Regions from separate parts of the Homo sapiens genome. Here regions 1, 2, 3, 5 and 6 are each linked to region 4. Evidence: promoter capture Hi-C in 16 types of primary human blood cells and fetal thymus (Javierre and others, 2016). All regions are on one chromosome and are shown on one strand. Each heading gives the region's core, a stretch centred on a gene start or on the middle of the fragment in contact. The rest is flanking DNA. Distances are from core to core; before and after follow the strand shown. Region 1 has its middle 290 kb from the start of LNCSRLR. Region 2 has its middle 310 kb from the start of LNCSRLR. Region 3 has its middle 880 kb from the start of DIPK2A. Region 4 holds the start of SLC9A9 (solute carrier family 9 member A9). Region 5 has its middle 340 kb from the start of LNCSRLR. Region 6 holds the start of TRPC1 (transient receptor potential cation channel subfamily C member 1).

Region 1 (4,162 bases), core at 1,018-3,517, 1.9 Mb before region 4:
GAACTAGTTATAGCTAACATTTTTTAAGTGATTACAAACTAAGATGCTGGATTTTTAAAAAATTGAGTAATTTACCCACCATGACAACAACAGATGATATTAACATCTTTATGGATGAGAAAAGCTAGTTTTATTGTTTTAAATCAATAATTCTTAATCCCAGCATTTTGGGAGGCCAAGGAGGGCAGATCACGAGGTCAGGAGTTCAAGACCTCGTTGAACTCCAGTTCAGCCAGTTCAGCCTGGCCAACATAGTGAAACCCCATCCCTACTAAAAACACAAAAAATTAGCAGGGCATGGTGGCGGGTGCCTGTAATCCCAGCTCCTCCAGAGGCTGAGGCAGGAGAATCCGTTGAACCTGGGACGGGGAGGTTTGAGTGAGCCTAGATCACACCATTGCACCCCAGCCCAACCGACAGTTCAAGACTTCATCTCAAAATAAATAAATAAATGCAAACAAAATAATAATGATAATTCTTGAACTTTGGTATATAACAAAATCACTTAGAAGAAGGTCTGGCCTTCTTTGCATTTTTACCAAGTCCCACAGGTGCTTCTGAATGCCACCCAAGTTTTAGAAGCACTGGCTAATAGTGCTTCTGGCTAATATGCTAATAACTTACACTTTTAACTAACATGCTCTACAGTTTCCAACTATATCTGCTCTTTCAAATCACTAGGATATTTATATAGTTTCTAAAACAAATATCTAAATCACTCCTTCCTCCTTTGAACAAAATGTACTAATGGTCTCTCATCATTTAGGTTTTTAGTTAACTCTATTATAAAGAAGTTTGCTATCGATGTTAGATAAAAATGTAACAAATATATGTTGTATTTTGATGAATTGTCACTGTAAGTTTTCTTATAGAAAAAGGATGAAAGTATTGTAGAAGTCATTCCTATATTGGAAGTGGTGTTTAAGTCAGTGAATTGCCAGATGCCTGCAAACTGTCGTGTCTACAGACCTGTGAGACTATGCACGGCCTCTCCAAAGCTTGAAATACAATACAATGAACCTTGAATAATGTCCTGCCCTTAAACACTGGACATTCAAATAATTTGCACTATTAAGAGTATAAAATAAAGATAAACATTAGCATTAGTAGTTTAACATAAAAACAATCTACTATACTGCTTTTCTGAATGGGTTTTTCAAACGAGATTTTAGGTTTCTATAGAAGCAGGAGTTTCAGCCCTCAAACTTGAGCCAACTAATTTTCTGATGAGACACTAACAACAACTACAAATGTAGTTAAAATTTTCTCTTTCTGGCCAGAAGGAATTTTTCCTGTATTTGGAGAAGAAAATGATGTTCAGCTTGTGGACGATTCTGAAAAGGCTCTGAGTAATGCTTAGGGACACATGACTGTAGCACCCCCTGCTGATGACTTCTGGGATTAAAGTTCATGTGATACTGGTTTCAGCTCCATGATTCCTCAAGTCATTTCACTTTGCTGGTGAGACAGAAAAGTAATGTTATCTCAACTTGTCTTATTCAACAATTAAATTCTATTAGTTTTACATTGAAATTCTAAATCCTAAGATTTATTGGGTTATTGATAATTTTTATCACCTGTTGGTAATCTATTCATTTCATTCATCCATTCAGCAAACACTGAGTGCCCACTCTCTGGCTGTTGATGTTTTAGTTGTATGAGATATAGCTGTTAACAAAACGAACTTACTTCCTTCATGGGGTTTACATACTGGGGTGGAGTGGGGGAAGAGAGGGTTAAAGATAGAGAAAGAGGGAGGAAGGGAGAGAAACAGGGAGGAAGGGAGAGGGAGAGGGAGAAACAGAGGAAGAGGGAGAAAGAGGGAGAGGGAAGGAGAGAGGAAGAGAGAGAAGTTGATATACAGCATGTCAGATGATGATAAGCATTATGGAGATATTAAAAAGAAACAAGGTAAGAAGAAAAGCAAATGCAGGTGAGGATTGAGAAATTCTTTTTTTTTTTTTTTTTTTACAAGATGGTCTTCATTTTATGAGATTTTTCTTCCCACACATTGAAATAATTCACTAAAAACAAGCAGTCCTCCCTCAGCAATTAGAGTAATAATAAGTCCCAATCAGAAGTCAAGCACAGAGGGGAGGCAGTGTTAGTCATGGGAGGCAGATCTGTTAACGGAGGGACAAGGCATATTTTTGGAGAAACTTTTATATTCAAAATCTAACAATCTTTACCTAGCATCAGTACTAAATTTGAAGAAGTACATGAGACCAAGTTCCTTTGTTCTATTTATTGTTTCAAAATCTGAATTGTTTGTCACTTACAGAGCAAGGAGAACAGAGCACTGTAAGAATGATCTCAAGGTCTTTGTGATCATTGTTACAAGGTCACAGCTGTTTGCACATTGTATTTCAAAATCTGAAAGTATGTTATCACAATCCCATTCTTAACATGAACACATCTACCCAATGGGTGGGGAAGGACTTTAGCTGTTTCTCTGTTCCAGTCCCCTGCCCTAGGACCACCCAGCTGGCAAGGGCCACATCCTGACCATCTCTTGTGGTCAGAGCACAGGGTGACCACATTTATGGAGCTCAAATGAGCCAAGTCTCAAAGCAATGGAATGAACAATTTGTTTCCACTTATGTTAAACCAGGGAAGAAAAAAAATCATTGAATACATTAAATAACATAGGTCAATAGAAAGAAATGTATTTCAAAAAGGATAGTCTGTTGCGAACACAAGATGACAGCCATAGCTTAGGACGTTGACTGCCTTCAGTTCCCCTGTCTGCTCTCCCTATCAGTGCTACACCCAGGGTCAAACCCAACTCTAGATCAATCAAGGGTCTGCCTTTTCAACATCTACACCCATGCTGCTATGTATGCTCAAGAAAAATCACACACTTTTATGGGATTAGAAAGTGACAAACGTATGATCCTCAAAATAGCCTGGAAAATTCTCATTGTGTTTCTAGTCAATTCCATCTCCTATTTTTAACTTTGGCTTCTCTTCTCAACTGCTGACCTTATCACAACCCTTCCCTCAGGAGAAGAGCTAACTTTTTATTGCAGGCAGAAAAGAGAAAATACCTGATTGTTATTCCCTAAGCATCCTATCACCTATAAAGGTATCTGCATCTACTTAATCCTTCCTAATTCCTTCCTACTTTAGTGGGAAAGGTCTTCTCCTTGCTGTTCAAGGATGATCCTTTCTCAAGTATTCCCGTATTCTCAGTGACATGGCACCATCCTTCATCTATTCATCTCTTCATTCCCTTTGCCTACTGGCTTCTAAGGCTCTATGAAAATAATAAGTCAGTGGGCTTTGGAGAAAACCTGTAGAGAGTTCCTCTCAAACTCAATTTCCTCATTTGTCAAATGGGGATCAGAGCTCCTCTCTTACAGTGTCTTTGTAAGGATTAAGTGATGCAATATAAAAATCACTTGGAGCACAGCAAATATTCCAGAAACCCGACAGTTTGTGTTACTCCTGTTGCAGTGTACTACCAATTTATTTGTAATAGTCCTTTACAAAGCACGTTTACATGCCTTTCCAATTCTATCCTTACAAAAGCTTATAATATAAGCAGGACAGATCTAGAAATTGATTCAAAGTAATAAATTTTCTTTCTCAAGGTCACGGAGCTAGGTGGTGGTGGATTTAGGACTCAAAATAAGATTTTCTGAATCCTGCCTGCTTCATTGCTTGTGCACCTACATTTACTGCCTTTTTAGTTTTTGAATCCTTATGGGAAGTATGCTATCAGTTGTGGATTTGGACTCATTTGAACTCAGGAGCTAATGAACTGCTTTTGTTATAAAATAAAATTGTATTTCTCTGTGCAGATATCATTTGTGTTTTTCTTTGTATCGTGGATTACTTACAAGTTTGATGTTCTTTATGTATGCAAAGTGGGATAGGCATTAAGTGCATTACCTGAAGCAAAGACTACAGCTGTGTGAGGTTGATGAAACTACAATAGATTTCACAAAGTGCTTTTTGTGAACAAAATTCTAAACACTTATGACAAAGTCTATATAACATATGGTCTAGCATCCATTTAAATTTGCAAATGTAAAACATGCACAAAGAGGAAATATGTGAGTTTTATTTTCTTTCTCAGTCTTTTTTAATAGACTCCAGGTTTAAAGGAATTTGGGGAATTAAGTTAGTTCAGTTTGCTATTTTCAAGATTATATATGGG
Region 2 (4,443 bases), core at 1,395-3,894, 1.9 Mb before region 4:
TTGGCAAGTTGGCTGTGTACATGCTTAGAAAAAGTTGCTGTTGATGTTTTTCTTGTCTTGACTACAACTTATTTCTTCTTAGTTCTTTTGGAAAATGGTTTATTAAGTCACCAATGTTTAGAAGGCACATGGCCCATGAAATAATTCAAACTTTATTTTATAAGTTATTTATTTATTCCTAAAAGAAAATAAGGCACAAATTATCATCCTATGGAAATGTTTTTTTTTTTTTGGTCAAAAGGAGGGCAAAAACTGCATGAAAAGGGTTGTTGTTGCAAACTATAAACAATCCACCAGGCTGAAGTTTCCTGAAAGTGATGTAGCAGACTCAGTTTTATAATGAATATACTTTACCATTCAGACATGTATTTTGTCTAGTTCTTGTTCCACAAGACGTAATTTTCAAACTTTATAAACTTAGGTTAACTGCATTTATAGAAATGAATACAATATGGAAACTGCATATATTGCCATTATTTTAAAGTTATATTGAGTTACAATGAGTACATATTTAAGTACAAATAGAAAGTGATCAAATGGCATAGTATTTATTGCTATAATCTCAAAAGGTTTAACTTTTTTCTTCAATATATGCAGAGTTAAATACAATGAAACTCCTATAAAATAATGTTTCCCTATGCCACGGGTTCACTTATATTAGGAATCAATTGTGTGATGCACTGAAAATAGCAAGGGCTTTCAGAGTTAAACACATTGTAGTGTGGAACTCAAGTATAAATATGCAGGTTATGTACTCCTGTGGAAGCTACTTGGCCTCTTTGAACCTTAATTTTCCTATCTCTCAAAAGTAAGAAACAGAATGAAATCTATGATCCAATATTACTTATGCAAATTAAAAACACATGCATACAAAATAGTACTATATATTAACAAAAGCAATACCTATCTAAGGTGATGGATGAAACACATTAAAAGAAATGCTATGTAGAGAGAAAAGGGAATATGGATCAAAGATGAAGTGAGGCAGTAAAATGAAATTGGATGCTTTTCTCATACCAGTTATGAGAGTGCACTTTAAAAGCAAGTATATCATTATCTCACCTCACTGTACCAGTGTTAAAAAGTTAACATTCCCACAGTTGTTGGGATAATTAGAAATCATGTGTGAAATCCACTGAGCATATTTGCCATACAGTGTAAATTAAACAAATATCATATTTCTTACTGCTGAATATTGCTAAAGTTATTGTATTTTACAATAGAACTTTGAGTTTTGTGATGTACTAAAGGCTATTTTTTTTTGGAAAAGTCTTCTGTACAATTTATTTGAAATTAAAATCACATAAATTACTGATTCATTGAAAAGCATCAGGCCGCCTCAAATTATATAAATGTTGGCAAAATATGACTAAAATATTTATTCTTATTTATCTATTGTTAAAGTTGATGTATACCTTCAAATTGGTAATTGGTATCAATTTTAATGAACATTTTTGGAAATATTCAGCTAGTGCAATTTTGTGTATAACTGAAACCAGTCTAAGTGAAAATAAAGTCTTTTTCCCCCAACTTTCAAATTGCTAGAAAAAAATGGGCAAAATAATACGTAAATAGAGAAAAGCTTCAATACTGCAGACTCATGGTCAGTACCATTATGTATAAAAGTGCACTTATTTTTCCAACTTGCAATTGTGTTGTGCAGTGGGAGAATAAAACTTTCTATTGAGTTGAAATCTTTTGTTCTCCACCATCCTCTTCCTTCCTGGCTGATAGATATCTGAACTGATAGTGCAAATTTACAGTAAGTATAAAATATTCAGTTCTTCCTGAACTAAATGAAATAATTGGACAGAAATCCAATTTCTTAATAGAACTTCTGATTATAAGCCAAAATTCAGGAAACAGCTGCTATCCTGTAAGAATGAGAAAATAAGAAGATAAACAACCCCTACTGGTAGATTTTTTAAAAGATACTATAATTTTAAAAGAATAGAAATCAGATTAATTATTTCCCTTGAAAAAAGTAACTGAAGAAACATACAGAAAAATTAGTTTCAAATGGACAGAAAAACTATTTTAGAAAATTTGTAAATTATTTTACCAAATTAGAGAATGTGCATTTATGAATCTAGGATGAGCTAAGATTGGTAAGTAATATGTGAAAACAAATAAGAACAAAGAGAGAAAAATGGTAGTGGTTAAGTTAATAACTAATAGAGGCAGTACGTGCCAACTGGATATTTCAGAAACTTGGCTAAGTTATATGCAGACAGACCAGAAAAATGTACCAGACTTCAGAGAAAAGTGATGAGGAAAATATAAGACACAGAAAACACAATAATTCCCACCAATGTTGTTAAAGGAATTACAGAGAGATAGAACAGAAGAGATAAATTTGAATAAAAGAACCATAGATGAAACCCCATCTCTACTAAAAATACAAAAAATTAGCCAGGCGTGGTGGCGGGTCCCTGTAGTCCCAGCTACTCGGGAGGCTGAGGCAGGAGAATGGCGTGAAACCGGCAGGCGGAGCTTGCAGTGAGCCGAGATAGCGCCACTGCACCCCAGGCTGGGCGACAGAGCAGGACTCCGTCTCAAAAAAAAAAAAAAAAAAAGAACCCTAGAATGTTTCTCTTAAAAAACAACAAATATCTTATTTTGAAAATTCAGAATGTGTATTTTGTCTAAAGGTACCTTTATAAAAAAAACTCTATTAGACAGAAATTTTACATTTTTGTGAAATTGGAAGCAGTTAGAGTGAAAAAAATGGGTAGCCACAGAGCTCAAATATGAGGTTTTCCTAAGACCTGTTTGCAAAACTATACAGATATTAAAAAACACTATCTTCAGAGATCTAACTTTAATATTTTGTGACCCCCAGAATGTGACCAAAAAGTTATCATTAATGTAAAAATAAAAACACACACTCTCTTTTTCTATATGTCATTTCTTGAGAAGTTATAGCTATGAACAAAAATGTATATGCTCACTGTAGAAATAGTTTATAAAGTAAGAAATAATAGGCAAGTGGCAAAACAAGAGTTAGCGTATTAATTTAATTAGATCTTAGGTAGATCTCAAAAATGTTTAAGAAGAATTTGAAATGACCTGAGAAAGTGTATGTGTGGGTATATGCTGTGTATTGTTTACTTTTGTCTAGTTTTGAAATCATATGACCAGATCATACTGTATATATTCTTCCATAACTGACTTCTTTGGCTTAATATTCTGATGTTGATGGGATAAAAAGGTGACAATGAATGCTATATATAATAATATCTATGTTATGTAAAATCAGATCAAAATAGATAAGATCAATTTCTTTGGTTGAATTAAACGTGTTTTTTATTTTTGTATTAATATTTTAAATATTTCCCTCATTTGTATGTAATGTGATGACTAATGCTTAAAATTATTTTATTTTCCAAATTTTAAGTGGATTTAAGACATATTCAGTAAATTCAATCTGAGAAATTGGTCAATCAACAATATTGATTTCCCAAGTTTAGAATATCCAGATATAAGGGAAGATGATTCTGTATTCACTTCATATTTAGAATGGCACTTTTCCCAATATCAACTGCATATGATTTATACATAGCTTTTCCCCTTCCCATATGACAGCAAGTTCCATTGCAAAATAATTTTAAAATTCAATTTCAATAAAATAATCATTGAACAAAAATGAGAAGAGTGGTGTTGAAAAAATTCATTGTCTTTTTCAGATTATTTTATTCAAAGCTTTTAAAAATACTGTATCTTGAATTTAAGATTTAAACTACAGTTGAAATTATTTTTTAAGCCAGTTTAAAATAAAATTAAATATAAATGTTCATTAGTTTACTCAAAAGAATCTTTTATTTTGAACCAAATTTGCATTTATACTTCTATGTTGTTTAAGAAATCTTTTGCAACCTCAGTGCCATGAAGGTTTTCTCCTATTATTTTTTTCAATATGTTTTCTTTGGTCACATTTTAGGGTTTTAATCCATTTTGTTTCTTTCATATGGTTTGATAATTTACATTCATTTTGTTTCACTTATGACACCTTAACTTTTCCAATACTATTTATTGAAAACCTTTTCTTTGTTTCTGTTACTGAAATTCCAGTTTTGTGTATATATATATATATCTTTGGACTACTTATTCTGTCCCATTGATTTTTCTTGTTTTTGTAATAATAGTAATTAGTGATATTAATATAATTGTGTTACATAGTAGAGAAAGTTAAGGACTTTTTCTTCTTCCAAGACCATCCTACCTATCCTTAGACATTTTTGTGTCCAATTAAATTTTAGAATTTGTCAAACTCTACTGTTAAAAATATGGGATATTTTTGAGATACTGTAAAATCTTTAGATTGTTTTAAGGATAATTTACATGTTTATAAGTGTGTCTTCCGATCCATGAATATTTTCTTATAGCTTTATTTATGTAGTTTCTTAATGTCTTTATATGAAGTTTTATAATTATTTTATGGAA
Region 3 (4,167 bases), core at 1,420-3,919, 1.0 Mb before region 4:
ATTCCCTTAATAGATACTCTATATGTTCCACTTCTGTAGCTTTATTTTTCACAATCAGAAATTGGAGGGAAAGCAGCCTAAATATTTTAGGGGCAAATTAAAAAGGTATAACATTTGACTCAGTAATATACAAACATTTTGAAGCTATTGTTAAACTCAAAATATGAGCCAAGTATTGCACTAGATGCCATAAGGAATGCAATATGATATAATTAATGATATTTATTGAGTGCCTGCTCTGGGTCAGGCATCAGTCCTGGGAACACAACGAAGAACAAAAGAGTCAAGGATGCTCTTCTGATAGAGCTCGTATTCTAATTGGGGGAGACAAACAAACAATAAGCAACTAGACAAATAAACAACATCAGCCTGGTACTAAGTGATATACAGAGAAATTAAAAGGGTGATGTGATAAAAAGTGACTGAATGGTTTCCTATAGCCTCCTGAAGAGGTAACATTTAAGCTGCTCTATGAATGATGAGAAGGAGCTAGCTATGTGAAGATCATAGGGAGGACCTGTGCATATCTGTATGTCAACCTGGCTGAGTAAATAAGAATATAAATAATTTGAAATGCCTGATGATTTCTGGTAATGCTAATAATTTCAAGATTACTATTTTTTTTAATTTGTGAAAAAAATATATGACCAAATATGGAAGGAATATTTTGATCAAAGTCCCTAAACAGGCCTCGGTTTAGCAACTTTGAAAAAAAATCTGAAGAGAGTCCCACTCACAAATGCATGCTGGGCAAGGAAGGTAGAGGCTTGAGTTTCATGGCAGAGAGATAAGGAGAGGATGATCACTTTGCATTGTAAGCCAGGATGATACGTTTGGAGCTTGTTCTAATTTTGAAAGACCGCTGGAGTCTTTAGAGCAGAGGAGTTACATGATCTGATACATATTTATGTATAATATTTTATGTACAATATTAATATCATCTTATCTGCCATATGGAAATTGTATTGTAGAAGGATCAGAGGTTGGAGCAGGGAGAAAAAAAGTTAGCAGGATATTTCTGAGAGGATGGTTTTGCTCTTTATTAGAATAGGCTAAATGATATGGAACAAATTTAAGGGGAAAAATCAAGAGCTCCATATATAAGATGTCATTAGACAAACACATGAAGATGGCAAGAAGGCTGTTTGGTATATCACTGTGGGATTTCAAAGAGCATTTTGCACAATTATGGTGTTTAAAGTCACAGGAGTAGATAGATGATATAACCTGTGGACATTGTGTAGGTAGATGGAAAGGAGAATTGGGCCCAGGATTGTGGGCAGAGGATTACCTAGGTGCCGAGGCAAGAGACTGAAGGCACAAACTGTTTCAGTATAATAAAGAAAATAGTTAGAATAAGAATAGTCATAATACAAATTAGATATAGAGATGATCATGAAGAATTATCAATCATTATTATAGACATTATTAATCATTAGCTTTTAATATTACTCTTTGTTGCATTACTAATATAACCTAGGAATAACCGGCGGGTATAGGGTCAGGTGCTGAAAGGACATTGTGAGAAGTGACCTAGAAGACAAGAGGTGAGCCTTCTGTCACACCCGCAAAAGGCCACTTGAGGGCTCCTTGGTCAAGCGGTACCACCAGTGTCGGGGAAGGCACCCATTACTTAGCAGACCGCGAAAGGGAGTCTCCTTTCCTTGGAGGAGTTGGGGAACACTCTGCTCCACCAGCTTCTTGTGGAAGGCTGGATATTATCCAGGCCTGCCCGCAGTCATCTGGAGGCCTAAAACCCTCCCTGTGATGCTGTGCTTCAATGATCACACTCCTTGTCCGCTTTCATGCTCCTCCCGTACTCCTGGTTCCTCTTTGAAGTTCGTAGTAGACAGCAGTAGAAGAAACAGTGAAAGTCTTAAAAGTCTTTGATCTTTCTTATAAGTTCAGAGAAGAAAATGCTGATGTATGCTGCCTTCTCTCTCTACCTTGGCTACCTAAAAGGGAAGGGCCCCCTATCCGGTAATCAGGTGACTTGCTTCACCTTGTCAATCACTTAGAAGATTCACCCTCCTCACCCTGCCCCCTTGTCTTTATGCAATAAATATCAGCAGGCCCAGCTGTTCGGGGCCACTACTGGTCTCCGCATCTTGATGGTAGTGGTCCCCGGGGCCCAGCTGTTTTCTCTTTATCTCTTTGTCTTGTGTCTTTATTTATTACCATCTCTAGTCTTTGCACACGGGGAGAACACCCGCTAAGCCCCGTAGGGCTGGACCCTACACAGGATAAAGCTTTGATTTATTTCAACTTTTAGAGTTAAGGAGGAGAAGTCAAGCAAGGCGAATTAGAAGAAAATTCCAGTGAGGTAGTAAATAAAGAAGTTAAGAGTGACTGATCCTCCCAAATCTTTGAGGTCATTTTGCTAAGTGGGAGAACAGAAAAATGGGGTGTATTAGTCCGTTCTCACATTGCTATAAAGAACTACCTGAGACTGGGTAATTTATGAAGAAAAGAGGTTTAATTGAACCACAGTTCCACATACTGTACAGGAAACATGGCTGGAAAGCCTCAGGAAACTTAGTCATTGCAGAAGGACAAAGGGGAAGCAAGCACATCTTCACAACAGAGAGTGGGAAGGGCTACAGACTTTTACACAACCAGATCTTGTAAGAACTCACTATCATGAGAACAGCAATGGGGATATTCCCCCCATGATTCAATCACCTCCCACCAGTTTCCTCCCTCAACACTGGGGATTACAATTCAACACAAGATATGGTTTGGGACACAGACCAAACCATATCATGGGGCAATAGTTTAAGGAAAATGTAGGGTTAAGACAGGGTTTTTTACAAGATCAGAGATACTACAGTAGTGCTGTACATACATCCCATAATATTGATGGGCAGAATTCAGTAGAGAGACAACCTAACAGAGATATCTTGAGAGAATAAATACAGAATGAAAGTCTTTGAGAGGTGAGCATAAGTAAGAACTGCAGTACTATCAGGGGGTTTGACACTCAGGGGATTGAGGCTATCCACTCCCTGGCTAAAGAGAAGAGGCAAAGAAAACAAAGAACAAATATTTTCAGCCCTTGAAAGACATTCTTGCTTGATCCTTAAGCTTGCTAATTCTATTTCGATCTTCATCTCTCTTATTTGCCAGAGTATCAAGAATCTACCTAGACACTGGCTAGAGTTTATGGCATTGCAATATAATGGACCACCAACTATGCCTCCTCTTTCACAGGAACCCGCAGGTGCTGTGTTTAGTAAATGCCTTTACCTATTTTTTTTTTCCTCAAAGAACCAGACATTTTCAACCTGTGAGTCCTTTGTGTGTGACAGATACTAATATAAGTAAAAACAAAGACAAGAAACGATTTTAAGCAATTTCACTCATCGGCTCTCTCCAGTTGCCTAAAGGAAGGAGGTTTTTGACTCGGGGCCAGCATTAATTGAACCTTGTTATGCCTGTAGAATTTAGAGAGTGAGAACAGCAGGAAGCTAAAGGTATTGAAGTAGTGCAGAAGGACTATGGATTAAAACAAGGTAAGACAAATCTGTGAAAGTGAAATGGCAAGAAAAGAGCAACAGTTTACAGAATATGGATTCTGTCAGGAATTTGAAAAGCAGAAGAAAACAAAAGGGAAATAGAAAATGAAGCAGCTACAGTGATGAGAGTGATTTTGGATGGAGAAACAAGGGCATGAAACTTCCACAAAGACCCATTATATTTTGAATACTTTTGGAGTCAGCCTTTTGTTTCTTTTAAATGTGATACCATGCTGATCTCAAGACACTCAGTTTTATTAAAATTCGTTTAATTGTTCTGCATTTGTTTAACACACACTTATACAATGCCTTAAGCATGATGCTGGGTGCTGTTTGAGACCCAAAGAAAGTAAAGTCCACCCTTGTCCTCCAGTAGCGCCCTCTGATGATGTAAACAGACATGCATGTACATTGCCTTGTGCAGTGAACATGTACTGTATGGTACTTTCTGATACATTTTAGAAAGAATTAGGTATGCGATCAATCAATTCTTATGGAAGTACAAAAAAAGTCAGAATTTCCTTTTATAGAATTGGGTAATTCTTCAGAGTTACTTTTATTTTATTTTATTTTATTTTATTTGAGATGGAGTTCTACTCTTGTTGCCCAGGCTGGAGTGCAATGGCGCAATCTCAGCTCACTGTCACCTCTG
Region 4 (4,205 bases), core at 770-3,269:
AAAGCCATATGATTTTTTAAATGTTAAATATACTGATTTGAATGTGTTGACATCAAACCTAAAACTTTTTAAAAAGACGTGTAAGCCAATCAAAACATTCTATGGGCCATTAATCTTTTGTCAAGTTGCTTCATTGGTTAAAAGAGTGAAACTGGATGTCACGGATCAACCAGAGAATGTTTATTCTACTCAGATGGAATAATTGTGATAAAAGAAAACCAAAGTAATTCAATAATGACAAAAAACAAAAGGACAGGAAGTTTCTGAATTTGTGTTATCTTGTATATCTGACAACTCGACTGAACCTGTGGAGTTGCAAAATCATAAAGGTAGAACCTGCTAGCAAAGCTCCATGAAATGCTTGCAAGCATTAGCTGATAGGTTTCAAAACAGTATGAATATTAGTCATCACAGATATTCCTGCCAAAAAGGGTAGCGTGTCAGAAGAACATCTGCAGCACACATAAATACCCTCTGCTAAGTTAAACTCAGAGAGGAAATAAGCTTCCAAAGTTGCACAAAGCAAAGATGCTGAAACAGCAGAGCTTTGTATTAAGGGGTTGATAGACTTGCTCTCATGGTGAAACTGTTTGTTGAGGAGGTAGTTAGCTCCCAATAATATTACATGCTTGACCTTTAGCTTTTAGTGACAAAAATTGTTTCAGGACGCATTTGGGCTCAGCCTACTCAATAAGAAATCACATTGTATAAATTGAGCATTAATTGTGTCAAAATGGGGATCATAAGTGATTAATACTCCCAAATTACAATGATATGGTAAAATGAAAAAAAAAATCAGCTAACCCCAGGATATACCCAAATGTGTTATAGGATCAAGTGTTAAAAGCAAGCAGGTCATAATATTTGCTAAGAAAAAAGAAAGAAAAGGAAAAAAAAGCTGCAGAACCCATGGTATTATCTTGAACTATTTTAAAGTAGAAAAATATGAAATCAGACAGGAGCAACCTGCCACATGGAAGATGATCTGAAGAATCATCACTCTTATGATCAGAATCCTGTGAATACAGAGCTTTCATTTCTGGTGGCAGAACCATTTCTCAGTGAGCAACATTGTTTTGCCATAGGACAGAGGAGGTTGTGATCTATTGCAGATTTCTGTGGGTCCTGGATGCCGAGACCAGGAACCCTACAAAGAGAAATCCATGCATGTGGCGTTGCTGAGGATGGCTGCGTGAGTTTCTCTTTCGAAGTAATGTGTTTTGTTTTTTTTCTTTTTTGTCTCAACGTATCCAAACAGTACAGTTGTAGAGATGGGGATGGAATTTTATTTGTCTTTTGCTTTCATTGTTTTCTCTTGTTAAAAGAAAAACAATTGATTTAGAGTTTAAAGGCTGCTCTGCAACTATCAATTATATAAAGCCAAATAGAGTCATATACTAAATCCTTTCTTGCTTCTCAACTAAAAAAAAAAAAAAAAAATCCTGTGAAATCACTTTAGGTTTGCTTAACCAATGTACAGTCATGATTTGAGAGCATAAGAAACCCTATAAGAAACCCTATGCCTTAAGTGAATCCCATTGTGAGATACTTGAGCTATGAGGCGGAAGTTTCAGGCTAAGCAGTGTAATATCTTTTCAGGAGGCTAATATGCTGATCCATTTAGAGCACAGAGGCTGATTGATAACTGTGCTATCAATCCCCATCACTTTGGCAGGTCTTGGTTAGAGAGGAAAGATCTTGCATTTAGGTGAAGTTGAGTCAGGAATTGGCTTTTTGAACTTAGAAAACGTTGCTAGTGTAAGGCTACCTTTTTTATTATTAATCTACAGTTCATATTTATGCAGCTTAAGAAGACTTATTTGGAATAATAAGACCGTGATTCAAGATCTTAGCATCATTGCTTGCAGATTTGTCCAGTATGAAAGATATTTTCATGAGATGAATCACTTAAAGACATTAAGAGTCAGTGATGAAACCACACACTCTCGAGTTTGAAAAGAGACAGGGCTGCTTTAAGAGAGAAACAGGAAGTTGTAACTAGAAGCCATCTGAATACTAAGCCAGGGCAGAATGCTTGTGAAGTAGCAACTAAAGTGGCAGTGTTTCTTCTGAAATTCTCAGGCAGTCAGACTGTCTTAGGCAAATCTTGATAAAATAGCCTTTATCCAGGTTTTTATCTAAGGAATCCCAAGAAGACTGGGGAATGGAGAGACAGTCAAGGGTTATGTCAGAAAAGGATGAGTATCAGTTTCAACATCAGGGAGCGGTGGAGCTGCTTGTCTTCAATTTTTTGCTCATCCTTACCATTTTGACAATCTGGTTATTTAAAAATCATCGATTCCGCTTCTTGCATGAAACTGGAGGAGCAATGGTGTATGGTGAGTGCATAAATTGTGAGATTGATGTGAAACTTGTTGCTTGAGCGTAATTAGAGACTTGTGCTCAGATAGCAAAGTACCGAAACTGGAGAAAATGTGCTGATTGAAATGTCATTAGTTTGATGAAAGGTGCTGCAGCGTAACGAATGCTAATCTCTTTACAGACAAGCCGCCGAAATTTGCCATGTCACGAGAGCAAATGTCACAGTCATGTTCTCACACGGCACATAATGCAAGTCTGTTGACAGATGCGGGTCCATTGTCATGTGGGGAGTCGAGGGCGAGCTGTTTGTTTTTGTAATGATGTTGGGAAGTGATGGCTCTGCAGTCACAAAGAGCAGCCTTCTCTCACTGGCTGCACCGATGAACATTACGAAGTTCTAGAAAAAACATCACTTCAAAATGCCTGGAGTAATTCCTCTTATATCAACTAATTTCAAGAAGAAAACTTGCAGAAACTAACCCCACCCCTCTTAAGAGAATATTGTGTCCAAGTCCTTTTTATTTATACGAACAGTGTCTTATTTTCTTATAATAAAAAGTTATAAATAAACGAGAGTTTCTTTATGCAGTACTTTTTACTTCTTAGCCTGATTTCAGATGTTCTAATTTATAATGATCATTGCTAGTGTTATTTGTTATGTATCTCCTATTTATGTATTGGAGGCCAAGGTGTGGAAAAATATTTAACACCTGCAGTATTGCTCTTTCTGGGCAACTTACCGTATCATTCCTTTCAGAAAGTTTAATAAAGTCTGACAGAGATTATCTGTCTGTACTCTCATCTTTTAAAGTAAAATGAAAGACACCAGTTTTTACTGGTGTTACTGATGAAATAGTTTACTTCACTGCTCTTATCTCAGCCTGATAATGGATAGGAAGTTTGAACACAATGGCAACAGGCAAGGCATTGCTATAATTTATAGCAAATAACATACTTTTATATTTGGGGTTTCCTCATTTTGGAAATCCTGAAACCCTTTCCTAAGCCTGAGATTCAGGGTACAGATCAATGCACATTGTATATGCTAATCCTGTGGTGTCCTGATATTAACAGTGTATAGTTGTGATTTCAGAACCTAAGGAATCCTAAGCCTTAAGTGGATCCCACTGTGAGATACTTGAGCTATAAGGCGGAAGTTTCAGGCTCAGGAGGCTGATATGCTGATCCATTCAGAGCACAGAGTTAAATTCCTTGGTACTGAGGGTCTTTTAAAAATTTTTTGCTTGGGAGTGGGGAGGGACAGCATTAGGAGATATACCTGATGTTAAATGACGAGTTAATGGGTGCAGCACACCAACATGGCACATGTATACATATGTAACTAACCTGCACGTTGTGCACATGTACCCTAAAACTTAAAGTATAATTAAAAAAAGAAAAAAAACATAACCCAAATGCAAAAAAAAAAAAAACCTTTTTTTGCTGTATTGTTTTATTTATTTTTTAAAATTTAGTGGAGACAGGGTCTCACTATGTTGCCCAGGCTGGTCTCCAACTCCTGGCCTAAAGAGATCCACTGACCTTGGCCTCCCAAAATGCTGGCATTACGGGCATGAGCCACCATTCCCAGCCAGTATTGAGGGTCTTAACGGGCACAAGAAAACTCTCATTTAAGAGAAAAAAAAAATCACAATCAGGTGGGAGAGAAATAGCCAAACAAAAAGGAGGGGATGCCATCAGATGTGAAGCCCTAGGTTCCTGTCATTTGCCTATCTCCATCATGAACAGAATTTTTCTCTTGACTTGACTAATAAGTAATCTGCAAGGATATGGAATAGAATCTGAGAAGCCAGAAACAATGTAATTCTTGATATCATATTAAAGGGACATATGTGCTTTAGCAAAACTACCCAGATTTAATA
Region 5 (4,106 bases), core at 62-2,561, 1.9 Mb before region 4:
AAACCTGGAATTTACTTAATTTTTGTAAATTATCTCATGTGATGAAGAAAATTCACCTTGACAATCATTTTTAGATTTTGAAAGGTAAAATGTATGAATCTTATAATTACATTAGCAATTGACAAGTTGGTATGTATCCTAAAATAAGAAAAAAAATCCCACAAAATTCTACTTTTAACTGTGCTGCCTAAGCATCTAATTATTCTCCAATATTCTTATTTCTATAACACTTTAATATCATAACCTCCATGTCGACCTACTCTTTTATAATTCAGAATAATGCAATTTTAATGTATGTATTATATAAAAATTGTTTGTATCTATGATGTAGATGCAAAATACTTATTACATTGATATTCTCCCCTTTCTAAGGATCTCACAGAGCTATATCCATTCATGAAACAGAGAAAAACAAGATACATTCAAACAAATAATCATGTTTTCCACAGTGTCAAACAGAAAATCAAATATAAAAAAGTATAAAAACAAAATTCCAGTTAGAAAAACATTTATTGTTATATAATCAAATATGTTCAATGGAAGAATCCAGTACTATTGTTTAACAAATTTCATCTTCTTGAATATGTTTTCAATTATTTGTAGCATTCAAACAAGCTTCTATTCAGTCATCAACTTTTCATTCTTTCTGTTTAATACTGCTTGCTTCTTTCCTGTTCTCATCAAATACAGTATTCAAACACATGGAAAGGTGATTAACAAAAACTGAGTGAAAGTTGGCTAAGTATAGAATTATCACCAAGTTAGATATCATTAGAATGGAAAATTAGTAACTACTTCTAAAAAGCAGCATTGTAGATTTACATGCAAATGTGAATGGTTTAATTCATCTAATTCTATAACTCTTTAAACATTTTCATGATAATCCAATGCAGAGATTTTAATTATACAACATAGTTTAACAAGTTATTTTCTTGGTGCTGTTTTGCAAAGATAAGGCAAGAACTTTGTTTTAAGGCAGAACTCTGAAGTTGTGTTCACGTTACAAATAAATTTTCTTATATATATGTATTCTAGTTTCTTTAAATGTGCACATCTTCGATAGTTTTAAATTGTTGTAAATCATATCATACATACAAAAATATAAATATTATATGTGTATGTTTCAAAATAATAAAAAATTTTCACGCTCACCACCCAGCTTATAGAAGTGCAGTATATATATCTTTAAAGCCTTCTATTTACCTCTCTCCAATTTTGTCTGCATTTCTGACTCCCAGTTTCTGAATTTTGTGTTTATCATTCTCTTGCTTTTCTTTATAGTGTTATTGTGTATCAATGCATCCCTAACACTACACTGCTAATTTGCATACTTCATAAACTTTACAGAAGTAGAATTGTATTCTGTGTATTATTCTGTGTTATGTTTCTTTTATTTAATATTGTGTTTTCTATTGTTACTGACGGATGAGGTGTTTATCTAAGTTGTATTGCTGTTTGCTATCCCATTATGAATGCTACTACATTTTATGTATCTATTCTCCTGTCAAAGAGAATTGGATTATTTCAAAGGCTGGCCCTTCCAAATGGTGCTGCCATGAATCCTCTTGCGCTTTTCTTCAGGGCAAACAGCTAAGAATGGAATTGCTGGGCCACATGATATTCACATCTGTAGATTTGCTAAATAATGCGAGGTTGTTTCTCATTATGGTTACATAAATAACTTCATCCACTAACAATTGATGTATTTCAGTTATTCCACACACACGCTAAGAATTTTTCCATGACATTTTAATTCTTGGTATCTGAGTGTAGAATTTTTACCTCATAATTTTATTTTCTCCCACTTACTAATCACTTTTCATATTTGTGTTTTCTCTTCCGTGAACTATTTCTCTTGTTTAAGAAATTCTTAGACTTGTTTACTTTCTCTCTGTATCTGTTTCTTTTTCTCCCATGCATGTTTTGGAGGCATTTTACTTTCTAGTTCACCCAACTGCAGTTATCACCTTGAGAACTACTTTTCCTGGGAGTCACTAACCAAGCTTGGTCTAGGATACTAGGCCTTGTCTTCTGTGTGCCCTTTTGTGTGGTGGATTTGAGTCAAAGCCTTGAGCCACCATGTATTACTGGTGGTTCCAGCTTCAGCTCCTACTTAGTTCTCCATAGTAATGTATTTTCATTCGCTTTAAAGGATTAAAAATAATGATAATCAGCATTTTTAATTGGATTATACCTGGAGGTTGTTTCAAGCTACCACTTTTCTAGAAGAAGAAATTATTTGATTTATCTTATTCAGAAATAATTCACTTGGTGCAATATCCATAGATGAAGAAGGTTGTGATATCTGTGTATCCAAGTTTTATTTGTATTTATTTATGTTCTCACAATATCATGTTACCTGTAACTAAGTTAAAATGTCTATGTTTGTCACATCCTAATAATTCCTTACATGGTGGTATGCTTGCTCTGTACTTTGCAATACTACAGCCCCTTCTCTACCACAGTTGTTAAAATTGGTAGTATCTGACTCAAGAATAGCTAGCACCTTAGCTAATCTTCCCATTAGAATGTGGCCCAGTGTAAAATCGCCACACAAAGAAACACAGGCCTTATGAAGACCAGTTAGAGATTCTATCTTATATTTGATCTGGGCAATATAGTATCTGTCAATTGTTAGGTGTGTATTTGGTAAAAGTGAACTGAATGAAGCCAAATCTAAAAGAAAGAACAGTTACATAGAGAAGACAGTGAGTTTGTTAATTACATCAGGAAACAGATTTGCAGAGCAGACACTGGCAAATTACAAGAGAGAATAAGTATTTCTTAACTTCTACTCTTGAAGGTTTGTTAAAGATAACAAGTTTCCTGGAGCTTCTTTGTAAAGGTGAAAGGGCACCCATGTCCAATGCTTGAAAGAACAATTGTATTAGAATGTGGAGGAGTGCTGTATGCAGGAAAGGACCAGACCTTTTTATTTCCAGCTTATTATTGATCAATAATTTAGTAAATCATAATTAAAATGAAATACTTGAAAACTGAGATAGAAAACAAATAAGCAATATGCAAGGTCATATTTTTAAAATTAAATTCATCAGACAAAAGTCCACTCTTTCAGGTTCCTATAAAAGTCTAAATGGTTACCTCCATATTCCTGAACTCATTTAATTTATTAGTCACATTGGCAGAACTTGCACTGGCTGTGGACCACACTGTAAAAAGTACTGGTTTAGAGGAACTCACCTGTTCTTTCCCTGTGCTTCTACTTCTGCGCAAGTAGGGAGGAGTGGGGGCATTTTTATCTTCTTGCCCCAAGTTTTAGCATCTCCCCCATGGGGCTGTCACTCTGTCTACCCTTCTATCAAGCTTCATCAGTTGGATCCAAGAAAAGAGGAAAGCCTACTCAAGACACAGTCCAGCATAATCATTAGCTTACACTTTCTATTGTCTTGGGTGGTGTTTTTAATTTTAGAAGCTATGAGTGCCATACCTACGTATGCTTGCCTGTTTACTTTCTTTCTGTTTTACCATCTTGTCACTGCAATGTTGCAATTAAATTGGTTCAGACTCAAATGTAAATAATCTGTCATTTTGCTTCATGGTGGAGGAAGAACTTACATTGTGGAACAAAATTCTACATGTGGAGATTGAATCTTTTTGTCTGTGTAGCCAGTGTGAACAGATATAATTGGAAACAACTATTGCAATCAAGAAAGTAAGCATATTTGGGGTTCAGGATCTCACACTCAACAAGCACCTAGTCTTAGTTGTGACTAAAAGTTTACTTCTAGAAAAAAGGAGAACTTCTGAAAGCTTTGACTGCAATGGACAGTTTTGATTCTCCCTAAGTTCATATGTCAAGATGAAGAAGGAGAGCTCTTGTTCAATCCATGGAAAGGTCACTTCAAAAGAAGTTTTATCAGAATTTAAAAAATTAACTTCTTCATTTTCTGTTTTCATGCCTGGTGCTATGGTCTCTTTGGCTTCTTTAGGGCAAGTCAAGTCTTGCTGTTTCAGAAAAGCAGTTTGTGGGAAGAAATATGTGTAGTTTCAGGGGATTAATAAAGCTAAACCAAGCCCCAAGGATGTAAATAGCAAGAGGAAGATAAGAAATGGATAAAGCACATTGTGACAGTTATTCCCTCAGT
Region 6 (4,362 bases), core at 152-2,651, 1.1 Mb after region 4:
TATCTCCCAAAGAAAGATCTGGGAGCAATAAATCTTTCTCTCCAATAAAAAGCACTAACAATCAAAGGCGTTCCGTAAATCCAGAGAAAGTTTTGGCAACTAAGGCAGAATTTCTTCCGTCCCGTCCTTACTTCATGTATCTCCACCTAGGATATTCCGTTATTAATGCCAGTCAACAGTCACTGGCTAAAGCACTGGTCAGGTGAAGCTAAATAATAGAGGGTCTGGTTTTGTTTTTAAGAAAAACAAAAACCAGGTGATGAGAACCCTCCATACGAGGCATCCTAAGGTAAGGTGACGGAATTTTCCGACTGGAGTGTCGGAAACTAGCCTCTCGACTCCCGGAAGGAATGAACTGCGAGCCAGAGAGAAGACCAGGTCATTCATGCGGTCAGTAGCAAGGGCGGCGCTAAAACGCTGGGGTCGGGGCTCCCAAGGCGCTACCTAAACCCCGGACCCCAAGGCCAGAGCCACCCCCGACGGTGCAGCGCTCCGAGGGCGCAGCCCCAGCTCCACTCTCCCGCCAGCTCCACACTCACAGGGCAGAGGCGGTGAGGAGAAGACCGCCTGAGGCAGCAGGCGAGGCGGGAAGACACTCGGCGCCTGAGACAGAGGGAATGCCCCGATATAAGTTGAGGCGGGGGAGAGGACTAAAGGTCTGGAGGACAGGGGCGTCCAGAGGAGAAAGGGGCCTAACTCTCACCCTTGTCGCACGCCAGCAAGAAAAGCTTCTCATTCAGCGTATTCTCCTCCTTCACCTCCCGCACATCCTTCAGCGCCATCACCTCGTTCGGCGAGGAAGAGGATGGAGAGGAAGGCAGGGAGGAGGAGGAGGCGCCCGAGAGGTCCGTGCTCGGGTACAGGGCCGCCATCATCGCGGCCCATGAAGGGGGCAGGCCAGGAGACGGGGGCGGGGCCCCCACCGGCCCCGACCCCGACCCCGACCCCAGCCACGCCCCAGGGCTGGAAAAAGGATGAGTCGTTCCCACTGCTGCCTCGGCTCGAGGCCCGTTGGCCCCGAAGGGCGTCGCCTCCCCTGAGAACCAGCACTCGCCCTCCACTGACAGCCCCAAGTTGGTGGCGGCGCATGCGCGGCCCCGGGGCCAGCGACCCCTCCCCAGCCGCCGGCGCCCCGGCCGAGCCGGTCCGCGCCCGTCCGGGGACGACAGTGTGGCGCGCGCCAGGGCGGCAGCCGAGCACGGGGCCGTGCCAGGAGTCGCAGGGGCCGCGCCTGGGGCGGCCTAGCCCAGGAAGAGGACGAGAGATCTGTGGGAGAGGAGCTCCAAGAGGCGCTTCTGCGCACGTTGGGCTCCAGGGCTGTGGGAACCGCTGGCCCAGCTGCGCTCCGAGGAGATGTTCGCGACTCTGTCCTCACGTCATCCTCTGCTCCTCTGTAGCGACGACACTAGGGAGGAGCCTGCGGCAAGGGCGGGCTTGGGTGGGCGGGGCCTGCGGCAAGCGGGGCGTGGGTGGGTGGGGCCTGCGGTGGGGACGCACTGGGCTCCTGGAGCCCGCTGCAGCTTCCTTCGCTCTGGTGAGGTGAACCGCAGTCTGAGGAAGACTTCGCTCAATCGTCCCTTTCCACACCCAGGGTACTGGTTTAAGGTAATTAAGCAAATATGGAGCAGTATGTTAATTGAGTCTCTGACGACTTAATGTTTAGTCGAAATCCTTTGTGGAATTGTCCAGCTATTTCATATTCTGGTGCACTATGCTTTAAAGCACAATGGAGAGCCAGACTCGTGGGTTTGTATGTTGTACTCATTTTAGGCTGGAAATGAACTCTCATTTATAAAGGATATATAGATATATAATTATATTATGTTTAAATAATTTATACAAATATATAAATTTTTATTTCCATATTATTTCCATAGGTTTTTGAGGAACAGGTGGTGTTTGGTTACATGAGTAAGTTCTTTAGTGATGATTTGTGAGATTTTGATGTACCCATCATCGAGCAGTATACACTGAACCTAATTTTGTAGTCTTTTATCCCTCTCCCCCTTCCCAACCTTTCCCCGAGTCCCGAAAGTCCATTGTGTCATTCCTATGCCTTTGCATCCTCAAAGCTTAGCTCTCACTTGTGAGTGAGAACATACGATGTTTGGTTTTCCATTCCTGAGTTACTTCATTTAGAATAAGAATAATAGTCTCCAGTCCCATCCAGGTTTCTGCGAATGCCATTTATTCATTCCTTTTTATGGCTGAGTAGTATTCCATCATTATATATATATCACATATATATATACCACATATATATATATATATATATATATCACAGTTTCTTTATCCACTCATTGATTCATGGGCATTTGGGTTGGCTCCACATTTTTGCAATTGCGAATTGTGCTGCTATAAATATGCATGGGCAAGTATCTTTTTCGTGTAATGACTTCTTTTCCTCTGGGTAGATACCCAGTAGTGGGATTACTGGATCAAATGGTAGTTCTACTTTTAGTTCTCTAAGGAATCTCCACACTGTTTTCCATAGTGGTGTACTAGTTTACAGTCCCACCAGTAATGTAGAAGTGTTCCCTTTTCACCGCATCCACACCAACAGCTATTATTTTTTGATTTTTTTGATTATGGCCATTCTTGCGGAAGTAGGGTGGTACATACGGCATAGCAGTTTTGACTTGGAATTCCCTGATCATTAGTGATCTTGAGCATTTTTTCATATGTTTGTTGGCCATTTGTGTATCTTCTTTTGAGAATTGTCTATTCATGTTTTTTTGTTTTTTCTTGAGACAGAGTTTTGCTCTTGTTGCCCAGGCTGGAGTGCAATGGCGTGATCTTGGCTCACCGCAACTTCCGCCTCCCAGGTTCAAGTGATTCTCCTGCCTCAGCCTTCCGACCAGCTGGTATTACCGGCATGTGCCACCACACCCGGCTAATTTTGTATTTTTAGTAGAGACAGTGTTTCTCCCTGTTGGTCAGGCTGGTCTCGAACTCCAGACCTCAGGTGATCTGCCTGCCTCAGCCTCCCAAAGTGCTGGGATTACAAGCATGAGCCACTGCCCCCAGCCCTTTTCATGTTTTTAGCCCAGTTTTTGTTAGGATTTTTTTTTTCTTGATTATTTGTTTGAATTCATTGTAGATTCTGGATAGTAGTCCTTTGTCAGATGCATAGATTATGAAGATTTTCTCCCACTCTGTGGGTTGTCTGTTTACTCTGCTAACTCTTCCCTTTGCCATGCAAAAGCTCTTTCATTTAATCAAGTCCCAGCTATTTATCTTTCTTTTCATTGCATTTGCTTTTGGGTTCTTGGTCATGAAATCCTTGCCTAAGCCAATGTCTACAAGGGGTTTTCCGATGTTATCTTCTAGAATTTTTATAGTTTCAGGTCTTAGATTTAAGTTCTTGATCCATCTTGAGTTTATTTTTGTATAAGGTGAGAGATGCAGATCCAGTTTTATTCTCCTACGTGTGGCTTGCCAATTATCCCAGCACCATTTGTTGAATAGGGTGTCTTTTCCCCCACTTTATGTTTTTGTTTGCTTTGTTGAAAATCAGTCGGCTGTAAGTATTTGGGTTTATTTCTGGGTTCTCTATTCTGTTCCATTGGTCTATATGCCTATTTTTATGCCAGTACCATGCTGTTTTGGTGACAGTAGCCTTATAGTATAGTTTGAAATCAGGTAATGTGATGTCTCCAGATTTGTTCTTTTCGCTTCATCTTGCATTGGCTATGCAGGCTCTTTTTTGGTTCCATATGGATTTTAGGATTATTTTTTCTAGTTCTGTGAAGAATGATGGTGGTATTTTGATGGGAATTGCATTGAATTTGTAGATTGCTTTTGGCAGTATGGTCATTTTCACAATGTTGATTCTACCCATCCATGAGCATGGGATGTGTTTCCATTTGTTTGCCTCGTCTGTGATTTCTTTCAGCAGTGTTTTGTAGTTTTCCTTGTAGAGTTCTTTCTCCTTCTTTGTTAGGTATGTTCCTAAGTATTTTATTTTTCTAATAAAACAAAATACTTTTGCCGCTATTGTCAAAGGAATTGAGTTCTTTGTTTGATTCTCAGCTTGGTTGCTGTTGGTGTATAGGAGGGCTACTGATGTGTGTACATTAGTTTTGTATCCTGAAACTTTGCTGACTTCTTTTATCAGTTCTAGGAGCATTTTGGAGAAGTCTTTAGGGTTTTCTAGATATACAATCATATCATCAGCAAACAGCAACAGTTTGACTGCCTCTTTACTGACTTGGATGCCCTTTCTTTCTTTCTCTTCTCTGATTGCTCTGGATGGGACTTCCAGTACTATGTTGAAGAGGAGTGGTGAGAGTGGGCATCCTTGTCTTATTCCAGTTGTCAGAGGGAATGCTTTCAACTTTTCCCCATTCAGTATTGTGTTGG

What was found. Contacts are between HindIII fragments. The CHiCAGO score rates a contact against its expected background, and 5 or more counts as called.
Region 1: a contact is called between a fragment that was not itself captured here and the fragment with the promoter of SLC9A9 in region 4, in 1 of 17 cell types (endothelial precursors). The highest score is 5.7, in endothelial precursors.
Region 2: a contact is called between a fragment that was not itself captured here and the fragment with the promoter of SLC9A9 in region 4, in 1 of 17 cell types (endothelial precursors). The highest score is 6.0, in endothelial precursors.
Region 3: a contact is called between a fragment that was not itself captured here and the fragment with the promoter of SLC9A9 in region 4, in 2 of 17 cell types (M2 macrophages and M1 macrophages). The highest score is 9.9, in M2 macrophages.
Region 5: a contact is called between a fragment that was not itself captured here and the fragment with the promoter of SLC9A9 in region 4, in 1 of 17 cell types (endothelial precursors). The highest score is 5.6, in endothelial precursors.
Region 6: a contact is called between the fragment with the promoter of TRPC1 here and the fragment with the promoter of SLC9A9 in region 4, in 5 of 17 cell types (total B cells, total CD4 T cells, activated CD4 T cells and 2 more). The highest score is 14.3, in total B cells.

Annotation. Positions count from the first base shown.
Region 1 is chr3:145,774,185-145,778,346 of GRCh38, reverse strand. No RefSeq gene overlaps it. Among named protein-coding and RNA genes, the nearest start is that of LNCSRLR, 290 kb to the left of the region's middle. The HindIII fragment of the contact is 2,533 bases long and covers 1,001-3,533 here.
Region 2 is chr3:145,757,534-145,761,976 of GRCh38, reverse strand. No RefSeq gene overlaps it. Among named protein-coding and RNA genes, the nearest start is that of LNCSRLR, 310 kb to the left of the region's middle. The HindIII fragment of the contact is 2,120 bases long and covers 1,585-3,704 here.
Region 3 is chr3:144,851,653-144,855,819 of GRCh38, reverse strand. No RefSeq gene overlaps it. Among named protein-coding and RNA genes, the nearest start is that of DIPK2A, 880 kb to the right of the region's middle. The HindIII fragment of the contact is 835 bases long and covers 2,252-3,086 here.
Region 4 is chr3:143,846,282-143,850,486 of GRCh38, reverse strand. It overlaps SLC9A9 (solute carrier family 9 member A9), which reads left to right and starts at 2,019. Exons shown (of 16, transcript NM_173653.4): 1 at 2,019-2,339. The coding sequence starts at 2,165. The HindIII fragment of the contact is 4,941 bases long and covers 507-4,205 here.
Region 5 is chr3:145,729,638-145,733,743 of GRCh38, reverse strand. No RefSeq gene overlaps it. Among named protein-coding and RNA genes, the nearest start is that of LNCSRLR, 340 kb to the left of the region's middle. The HindIII fragment of the contact is 1,388 bases long and covers 618-2,005 here.
Region 6 is chr3:142,721,073-142,725,434 of GRCh38, reverse strand. It overlaps TRPC1 (transient receptor potential cation channel subfamily C member 1), which reads right to left and starts at 1,401. Exons shown (of 13, transcript NM_001251845.2): 1 at 704-1,401. The coding sequence starts at 875. RefSeq lists an enhancer at 1-849 and a silencer at 1,108-1,157. The HindIII fragment of the contact is 1,344 bases long and covers 731-2,074 here.